Linked DNA regions of Homo sapiens: region 1 is linked to region 2. The links are contacts of gene promoters, found by promoter capture Hi-C in human tissues and cell types (Jung and others, 2019). All regions are on one chromosome and are shown on one strand. The core of a region is centred on a gene start or on the middle of the fragment in contact, and the rest is flanking DNA. Distances in the headings are between cores, read along the strand shown. Region 1 overlaps TSC22D1 (TSC22 domain family member 1). Region 2 holds the start of KCTD4 (potassium channel tetramerization domain containing 4).

Region 1 (4,609 bases), core at 1,241-3,740, 640 kb before region 2:
AATCCCTGATCGCTCCACTGTATGTAATGAATTCGCTATTTTCTTATGCATTTAGAATGATGGTGCTAGATATATGCCATTCTTAGAACTAAGAGAGTAGGCACTCTTTTCCTGTAGGGATTGTCTTATGGACCCCAGGTGAGAAAGACTGCACCAAAAATGTCACAAAGGTACAGAACCGCTGCTTTAGAAAATTATGTATAACGCCTCTGAACAAGTAAACAAGCTTTCCATTTTAACTTACAGTGCTTAAGAAAGGAATCACTCTTACTTAGCACAGTAATAAAAACAGCCATCGATTTACAGAACTATCAAGAACTGAGCCAGGTGCATTATATGCCTTTCTCCTTTTATCCTCACAACAACAGCACGGGTAGCTATTACCTGCACATAACAGCTATGGAAATCAGGCTTAAAAAAGTTAACTCATTTACAAAGGTCATACAATGAAGAGGTAGCAGAAATAAGATGAGATGCCAGGGCTGATGCCAAGACTAACGTTCATTAAACTCTACCTCATTATGCTTATTCATCGATAGTCCAGATGCATCAATTCATTTGAATAGAAAAACTGTCATGTATACCATATACAGAATAACAATTGAGCACAATATAAACTTATTTGGATAATTGAGAAGATAAATCAAGATCTTATGATGCTTGAGTGTACTAGACGAAACTGTTGCAGACCAAAACCATGTCTTTTTTTTTCTTCATACCCTTAGTATCTTTGTTCAGTGCTAGGTATGTAACAAGCATTCAATAAATATTGAATGAGTATTTTTGAAGTAAATAAATCATCCCAATACCAGGAACAAAAAAAAAAAAAAAAAAAAAAAAGAGGTACTGTTAAAAACCTTCTAGGCTAAAAGACAATTGCTTAAACTACCTTAGGTAATTTTTCTAAAATAATTTTTATATAGATAAATTCGCTGATGCAGGCAATGAGGACACAGTGACCCTGACCGCAAACTGCACCAAATGTTTACCAAATTATTATCACCAAATCCCCTCCTTCTCTTCCACTCCTTCTAATGGTCTTCAACTCCCTATTTCTCTTGTCTCCTCTCCCCTTCTCATGTGTTAAGCCTAATTCAGATTACTGAATGAATGGTACTAATGGCATTTAAGTCAGACATTCATGAACTCAAATATAGTATAACTTGGTTTTTGTTAGGCCAATGTGTCCACTTGTTAGAAGCTTTTGTTTCTACATATTGGATCAATTTCCTAATAAGCCACTTGTAGATCCCTAAGGGCTAAGAGTCTGAATACAACTGGAAAGATAACTAGACCTCTAAATTAAAAAAAAAAAAAAAATCCAAAGTTGATCTTAGCCTGTCCATTTTATAAAAGGTAATCCAGTTTTAAAATATTATCTCTTAAGAAGATTCAATAATCACAAGTGTCTTGCAAAAATGCCAGAATGTTATTCTTAGGCCCTTGTGAATTTTTTTTTTTCCAGAAAACGTAAGCAAACAACAACAACAAAAGACTAATAAGAAATACGTAGGTCGGGCGTGGTGCGTCATGCCTGTAATCTCAGCACTTTGGGAGGCCAAGGAGGATGGATCACCTGACCTCAGGAATTTGAGACCAGACTGGCCAACAGTGAACTCTGTCTCTACTAAAAATACAAAAATAAGCTGGGTGTCGTGGCGCGAGCCTGTCATCCCAGCTACTCAGGAGGCTGAGGCGGGAGAACCACTTGAACCCACGAGGTGGAGGTTGCAGTGATCCGAGATTGTGCCACTGCACTCCAACTTGGGCGACAGCAAAAGACCCTGTCTAAAAATAAATAAATAAATAAATAAATAAACAAATATGTACAGCCATCCTTGTCTTCAAGCACTTTGAGAACATTTTAGCCATTGATGTTTACATGTGGCACCCACCCATGCAAGATAGGTTTCTGTATTTATACATTAAAATACCAAAAAAAAAAAAGTATGAAATGCCTTCAAAAATGTTCAAAGCTTGAGAGAAAAGCTTTTTTCATTAGTCAAGGTGTTTTGATATGGTATTAAAATAATATCTAACAAAATGAAAAAAAATTCTCTTTTCTCCATGAATGCTGACACTGGGGAGAATGGCAATTTTAGGCTGTCAAGAGCATACTAAATAAGTAAAATATCTAGAAATGCAATCGACTTGCACGGGATGTGAAAATTACTGGCTTTCAGTCACTTTTGGCTATTTCATACTGGCAGAAAGTAAAAATTATGGAACACACAAGTAAGGCTTATATTACATTACTATTAAATGATAAATAAAGCTACTATATCTTTTAAGATACATCTTTACTATTGTTAACTATAATTCAAAAAAATTCCAATTGCTTCAATAGCTCCAACATTTATAAGTGAATCAGGAAATAAATAATGGAAACGAAAAAAACAGTTCTACTGTTAAAAAAAAAAAACAAACCACCACCACCACCATCTCTTGGGGCCGTGCACGGTGACTCAACACCTGTAATCCTTGTACTTTGGGAGGCCAAGGCAGATGGATCACAAGGTCAGGAGTTCAAGACCAGCCTGACCAACATGGTGAAACCCCGTCTCTTAAAAAAAATACAAAAATTAGCTGGGCGCAGTGGTGCACGCCTGTACTTCCAGCTACTAGGGAGGCTGATGCAGGAGAATCACTTGAACCCAGGAAGCGGAGGTTGCAGTGAACCGAGATCGTGCAAATGCACTCCAGTCTGGGTGAGAATGAGACGCCATCTCAAAAAAAAAAAAAAATCTGAATACTTTAAAAAATTTTTGTAGCCAGGTGCAGTGGCTCATGCCTGTAATCCCAGCATTTTGGGAGGCCAAGACGAGCAGATCACTTAGGGTCAGGAGTTCATGACCAGTCTAGCCAACATGGCAAAACCCCGTCTCTACTAAAAATACAAAAACTAGTTGGACGTGGTGACGCACACCTGTAATCCCAGCTACTCAGGAGGCTGAGGCAGGAGAATCCTTTAAACCCACAAGGCGGAGGTTGCAGTGAGCCGAGATCATGCCACCTCTGAAGACCTAATGCAGATGTCTAAGATTCAAGGCCGAGCATGGTGTCTCACACCTGTAATCCCAGCACTTTGGGAGGCCGAGGCGGGCGGATCACCTGAGGTCGGGAGTTCGAGACCAGCTTGACCAACATGGAGAAACCCCATCTGTACTAAAAATACAAAATTAGCCAGGCATGGTGGTGCATGCCTGTAATCCCAGCTACTTGGGAGGCTGAGGCAGGAGAATGGCTTGAACCCGGGAGTCAGAGGTTGTGGTGAGCCGAGATCGCACCATTGCACTCCAGCCTGGGCAACAAGGTAGAAACTCAGTCTCAAAGGAAAAAAAAAAAAATTACAAAAAAAGAAAAAGTGGCCGGGCGCAGTGGCACACACCTGTAATCCCAGCACTTTGGGAGGCCAAGGTGGGCGGATCACAAGGTCAAGAGATAGAGACCATCCTGGCCAATGTGGTAAAACCCTGTCTCTACTAAAAATACAAAAATTAGCTGGGCATGGTGGTGCACACCTGTAATCCCAGCTACTTGGGAGGCTGAGGCAGGAGAATTGCTTGAACCTGCGAGGTGGAGGTTGCGGTGAGCTGAGATCACGTCACTGCACTCCAGTCTGGCGACAGAGCGAGACTCCGTCTCAAAACAAAACAAAACAAAAAGTTAATTCTACCTTCTAGAATAAGCAAAAGGACAAGCTAAATCCTATTTTTCAAATGAATATTAAAGCATTCATATAAACTATCATTTTTTTTATACTTCCCCAAGTGAGTTCACAGGAAAATTATCACTTTCTTGTTCCAATAATAAATATGATGTGAAGATAAGTTGTAACCACTCAAAATTAAAAATCTGATTCATAAAATGTGCTATTATTCAACTGATTAAAATTAGGTTTCTACTTTAAAAGTATTTTAATAGAATTTTAATTTGATTGCATTAAGCTTATAAAAAATATCCTAAGTATCAACAGCTTATAGAATCTGAGACCACTAGAAGGCCAGTAATCTAATAATTTATTGAAATATTTATGTCATGAAACTGGGTGTCTCCATATTCACTTATTTTTCTGAAATTGCAATTTACTTCAGCAAATTTTCCAAATTTAAAGTTTACTTTTTAGCAATAAATTTGGAGAATTTAACCACTGGGGTAGAAACTATACTTTTTAAATGTACTAAGAGAAAATAATAATAAAGATTGAAGGAATTATTAGGTACACTCATTACTGGACAACTCCATAAAATAGTGACCGAAATAACCAGGAAAGTCTATAGTGTCAAATGCCTCTATACTCAATAGGCTAACGACTGCTTTTTATAGTTGTCAGCTGTCACCTTTTGTTCTTCTCAATGGACAAAAGAAACCTCCAGAATGTGGTTGAGTGCAAGTTTTGGAATGAAATCACCTAATGGAATACTGACTAGCTCCATCACTTAGTAGTTAATGTGACCAAGGTCCTTAACTTCACAATATTTTATTTGTAGTAACATATCAACCAATAATACAGTAAAAAAAATTTTTGAATCATTTCCCTGTCATATAATCCTCAGGTCTCCCATGAATTTATTATCAATCTTATACAAGCTTACAAAAAAGAGGAGCT
Region 2 (4,871 bases), core at 350-2,849:
TGAGTATTTCAGGGAAACCTGTGTTTTATAATTTTGTAAGCAGAAGTCATACCTTAAGTTTTTTAAAAATGAAGTTTTTTTTTGAAATATAACCTGTGCGTTATTATTTACTGGAAAATTCTATTGTAACCAGATGAGCATAGCACTTATGTAAGCCATCAAATGAACATTAAAATTATAATATTGTACAGAACTCATTTTTATAGTGCTATTTGGCAAAATGCAATTTTACTTTCTCTTTGGGAAGAAGATATTTTAAGCTAATAACCATTATCTACAATCTCAAAATGAAGGGCATAACTTTGAAAACTCTTGTAAAGGTAGTACAGTTAGGAAGTAAATGACTAAAGAGGGTCTCTGTTACCGTATACTAGCGCCTGCCACTGTTCCTTCTGATTTTCTCATCACTTAACATCTGCTTGTGTCTTCAGTGATGAGGTGGTGTGGAGAAGAGAGAAGAGGATCTGAACAGGAGAACAGGATGTGATGGCTCAAGGGAGCAAATGTGGTTTCTTACAGAGTAGGGAGGAGTTATAAACTAGGGATGGAGAACTCTATCATATCACACATTTTTTTCATATTTACCATTTCTATAACTGAGGTACATCTTAATATCGTTAGCTTGTCAAAGTTTAGCAGCAGTATTTTGTCTTGGTGGCACGTAAAATAATGGTTGCTATTACAAATGATAGCATCTTATAGTTGATGAAATATTTGAGCAGCTCTGTGAGCTATTCCCTCCGTATCACAAGAAAGTAAAATTAACAGACAGGGAGGAGGGAAAGAATTTTGCAGGGAGATGAGAGAGAGAGGGAGAGACAAAACAATGTGGCTGCTTGATGTTAAAATTAGGCAAATTATTTTATAACTTTTATAAAATTAAATTTTATTTTTTGATACAGGGTCTTGCTCTGTCACCCAGGCTGGAGTGTATTGCAACCTCAACCTCCTGGGCTCAGGTGATCTTCCTGCCTTAGGAAACTCCCGTATAGTTGGGGCCACAGGCATACCCCACCATACCTGGCTAACTTTTTTATCTTTTTGTGGAGACTGGGTCTCACTTTGTTGCCCAGGCTGGGCTCAAGCTATGCTGCTGCCTCAGCCTCCCAAAGTGTTGGGATTACAGATGTGAGCCACCATGCGTGGCAAAATTCCTGAAGATCAAATAGAGATCAGAATATTACTTCACAAGTAAAGAGCAGCTTTTTAATAATACAGGGATAGAAAGTTTGCCTAACTGGTTTGTTAAGATGCTAGTACCTTTTATTAGTAGACCTCAACTCAGAACCACAGGCAAAAAAACTTCTAGGAACATATTTTAAATGAGAAGAAAGGAGACTACTAGGAATATTAAAAATGGTTTGCCTTTTAAATGTACCTGCTTCTTGAAAAGATTATTTCTTCAGTCTTTTCCCAGAGAGTGTCGACACAGGTGTGATGTAATTAAGAGTCAGGAGAGTAAGGAGAGTAACTTCGAGGTCTGGAGGATCAGCCTGAAATGTTGGTCAGTAGTCCTCTGGTCTGGGTTTTTACAGGAGCTGGAAGTTCTCTTAAAGGCCTCCACATTCAGCTGGATCCAGAAGGTCTTGTGGAAATGAATGAGTGTAACTTCCTGATGCCTAAGACTTCCTAACATACTTGATTTCATTACTTACATGCCAATGCTAATAAGCAGTGTTGCTGCTTGCTTATTCCTTTAACTTCTTCAAACTAGGGATGCCCTTAACTTTTTAAAAAAAGTGCCAGTATCATTTCTCCTCAGTTCTTTGACATAGAGTGTATGTCAAGTTCAGATATAGGGCAGGATAATCCAGCATAGAGCACAAATTTAAATATTTTCAAGCCTTGGGCAGCTTCTTAACATTTTGTTATTCTCTTTCTATTCAAAGAAAATTTAATTATATCTAGGTCTTTTGGAAAGTACTAGAGCAAACAAAATAACACTAATGAAATAATAAAACATCCCCAGTTGGAGAGGAAGGCTAGCATTTTTATTTAGTGAAAGAGACCTAGAAGAGATCTCAGACATTCTAGTAATATCATTATTATGGATGCTGAGGCCCAGAGATGTAAAATAACTTCTCCAAAGTAACACTGCTGTTTAGTGACAGAATCTTAACTAGAAGCCTTCAGTTCTTTTTATAGGATGTGCTTTATATACATAACCTTTAAAATTTTCTCTCGAGTTTTTTCTGATTTTAGGTGGTGGGATATACATAAATTACCATCATCAAAGATGTGTGTTCATACTCAATAAGATTCTTTTGGTTGCAAGTAGCAGAAACCAGTCAACAAACCAATCTAGCCAAAAAAGGAGTGCGGGGGAGAATTTAGAAAGAATCCCATACTATTTCCCAGAATCCAAAGAAGAGCAAATGGCCAAGGAAAAGATATGAATTGAGCCATTCCAAAGCCTTTGGTAGGATGAGTTTGTGTGGCTTCTCTGCAGAGTGCTGGCAAGACCATGTCCTTCTAGTAATTGGTGGTGTGAGCCCCTTAGTTGAACATTTCAAGCACAAGAGCGAGCAAGCACAGACACACAGAGGCCATTCCTACCACCTTCAGTACTCTTCCTTCTTACCCCCACCCACCCCAGTCTAAATCCTACCCATTTTTCAAGGTCCAGCACAATCATTGCTTATTCTTCAAAACTCTTCTTGGCCTGGCGTGGTGGCTCACACCTGTAATCCTAGCACTTTGGGAGGCTGAGGTGGGCGGATCACCAGAGGTCAGGAGTTCAAGACCAGCCTGGCCAACATGGCAAAACCCCATCTCCACTAAAAATACAAAAATTAGCCTGGCGCAGTGGCACATACCTGTAATCCCAGCTACCCAGGAGGCAGAGGCAGGAGAATCGCTTGAACCCAGGAGGCGGAGGTTGCGGTGAGCCAAGATCGCGCCACTGCACTCCAGTCTAGGCAACAGAGCGAGACTCCATCTCAAAACAAAACAAAACAAAAAACTCTTCTTGATCTCTAGCTAGACATCTGAGTGGGTGTGTGTGTGTGTGCAAGTACATGTGTGTTTAATCCCAGTACTCTTGTATGTTTCTATTTTATGACCTTTAACATATTCAACTTGACAGAAGAATCCTACAGCACATATGGAATAACCAGTAATTGGTCAGTTACATTAAAAGATGGGAAATCATAAAAATGATATCAATATGCAGTTCCTATCTGCCTTAAACATTTTATCTTAAAACTTATAAATGTACGTTTAGTTGGCTGGGCACGGTGGCTCACGCCTGTAATCCCAGCACTTTGGGAGGCCGAGGTGGGCAGATCACGTGAGGTCAGGGGTTCAAGACCTGCCTGGTTACCATGGTGAAACCCTGGCTGTACTAAAAATACAAAAATTAGCTGGGCATGGTGGCGCACGCCTGTAATCCCAGCACCTCAGGTGGCTGAGGCATGAGAATTGCTTGAACCTGGGAGGCGGAGGTTTCAGTGAGTTGAGATTGCACCACTGTACTCCAGCTACTCCAGCCTGGGTGACAGAGTGAGACATCATCTCAGAAATAAAATAAAATAAAATAAATGTACATTTAGTTGCTGATGTATATGTAAGACAAGGCCTTTGCTTTGAATATAGGATACTGACTGACCATCTGTTTTCTTTGTTTTTCAAAAATTAAACCCATCATTTAGTTTTTCAGTCTCATTCTGTCGCCCAGGCTGGAGTGCAGTGATGTGATCTCAGCTCATTGCAACCTCTACCTACAGAGTTCAAACAATTCTCATGCCTTAGCCTCCCAAATAGCTAGGACTACAGGCATGCACCACCACGCCCACCTTTTTTTTTTTTTTTTGGATTTTTAGTAGAGAGACGGTTTCCTTGTGTTGCCTGGGCTAGTCTCAAACTCCTGGCCTCAAGTGATCTGCCCTCCTCGGCTTCCCAAAGTTCTGGGATTACAGGCGTGAGCCACTGCACCTGGCCCCATGATTTAGTTTAGATTTTCGATTTTGGTTTCTTTGAAAAGGAGCAAGAACTTAGACACTGTGAAACTATCTAAATGCAGACTCTTTCTAGACTCCTGTGCTTCCCTTTCAGTCTCCAGTTGTCTCACCTGTACCTAATTTGACAGTATTGTGTTACAACTTAACTTTATATCATCTTACCAAAGCATTCTACATAGTTTTTATAGAAACACCCCCCAAACTCCCCTCATACTTGCAATTTAATGGGCTTCTGTAATATATAATCAGATTACATAATTATTAAAACTAATATAGACAAGTTCTAGCATCGTTTGAGCAGACGTGTGTGGGAGTACTAGAGATTAACCTATTACCCACTAGTATATAGTGACTGTGGGCATCTGTCGCTATATTTAATAGCAGGCAGTTGAGAGCCTTTGTTAATCTAGAGGTGAGTTAAGTAGAGGTGTATCAAAAGTGCTTCTGGTGTATTAAGATGATTTATGTACCTGTCTTATCCTACGAGACCAGCAGCTCTCGAAATGTGGTCTGGGAACCACTGGGCAGAGGGGTCCCCGAGATCCTTTCAAGGGATCAATGATGTCAAGACCATTTCTATAATAATGCTAATGGCTTTTTTTTATTTTTTCACTCTCATTCTCTAGAAATTTCTTAATTTTAGTTTCTAATATGGTAGATATCAGCAGTTAAAACTTATAAACAGGTTTTTTGGGAGTCTATACATTTTTCCTTTTAAAAACATTTAAATTTAGGTTTTTTAAGCTTATTTTTAATTGACAAGTAAAATTTGTGTATATTTATGGTATATAACGTGATGTTTTGATATATGTATATGTGTGGAATGGCTAAATCAAGCTATTCATATCTATACTTTTTAACTAATACATGCCACAGAACGTTTAAGAAAGTCTACGCTCCTTGAGGGTAGGA

The links. Contacts are between HindIII fragments. The study calls those that stand out against the background at their distance.
Region 1: a fragment that was not itself captured here is called in contact with the fragment with the promoter of KCTD4 in region 2 in 1 of the 25 tissues and cell types used here (pancreas).

Annotation. Positions count from the first base shown.
Region 1 is chr13:44,553,815-44,558,423 of GRCh38, forward strand. All of the region lies in intron 1 of TSC22D1 (TSC22 domain family member 1), which reads right to left. Among named protein-coding and RNA genes, the nearest start is that of TSC22D1-AS1, 20 kb to the right of the region's middle. The HindIII fragment of the contact is 3,555 bases long and covers 714-4,268 here.
Region 2 is chr13:45,199,446-45,204,316 of GRCh38, forward strand. KCTD4 (potassium channel tetramerization domain containing 4) reads right to left here and starts at 1,600. Exons shown (of 2, transcript NM_198404.3): 1 at 1,379-1,600. All of the region lies in intron 4 of GTF2F2 (general transcription factor IIF subunit 2), which reads left to right. The HindIII fragment of the contact is 9,631 bases long and covers 1-4,871 here.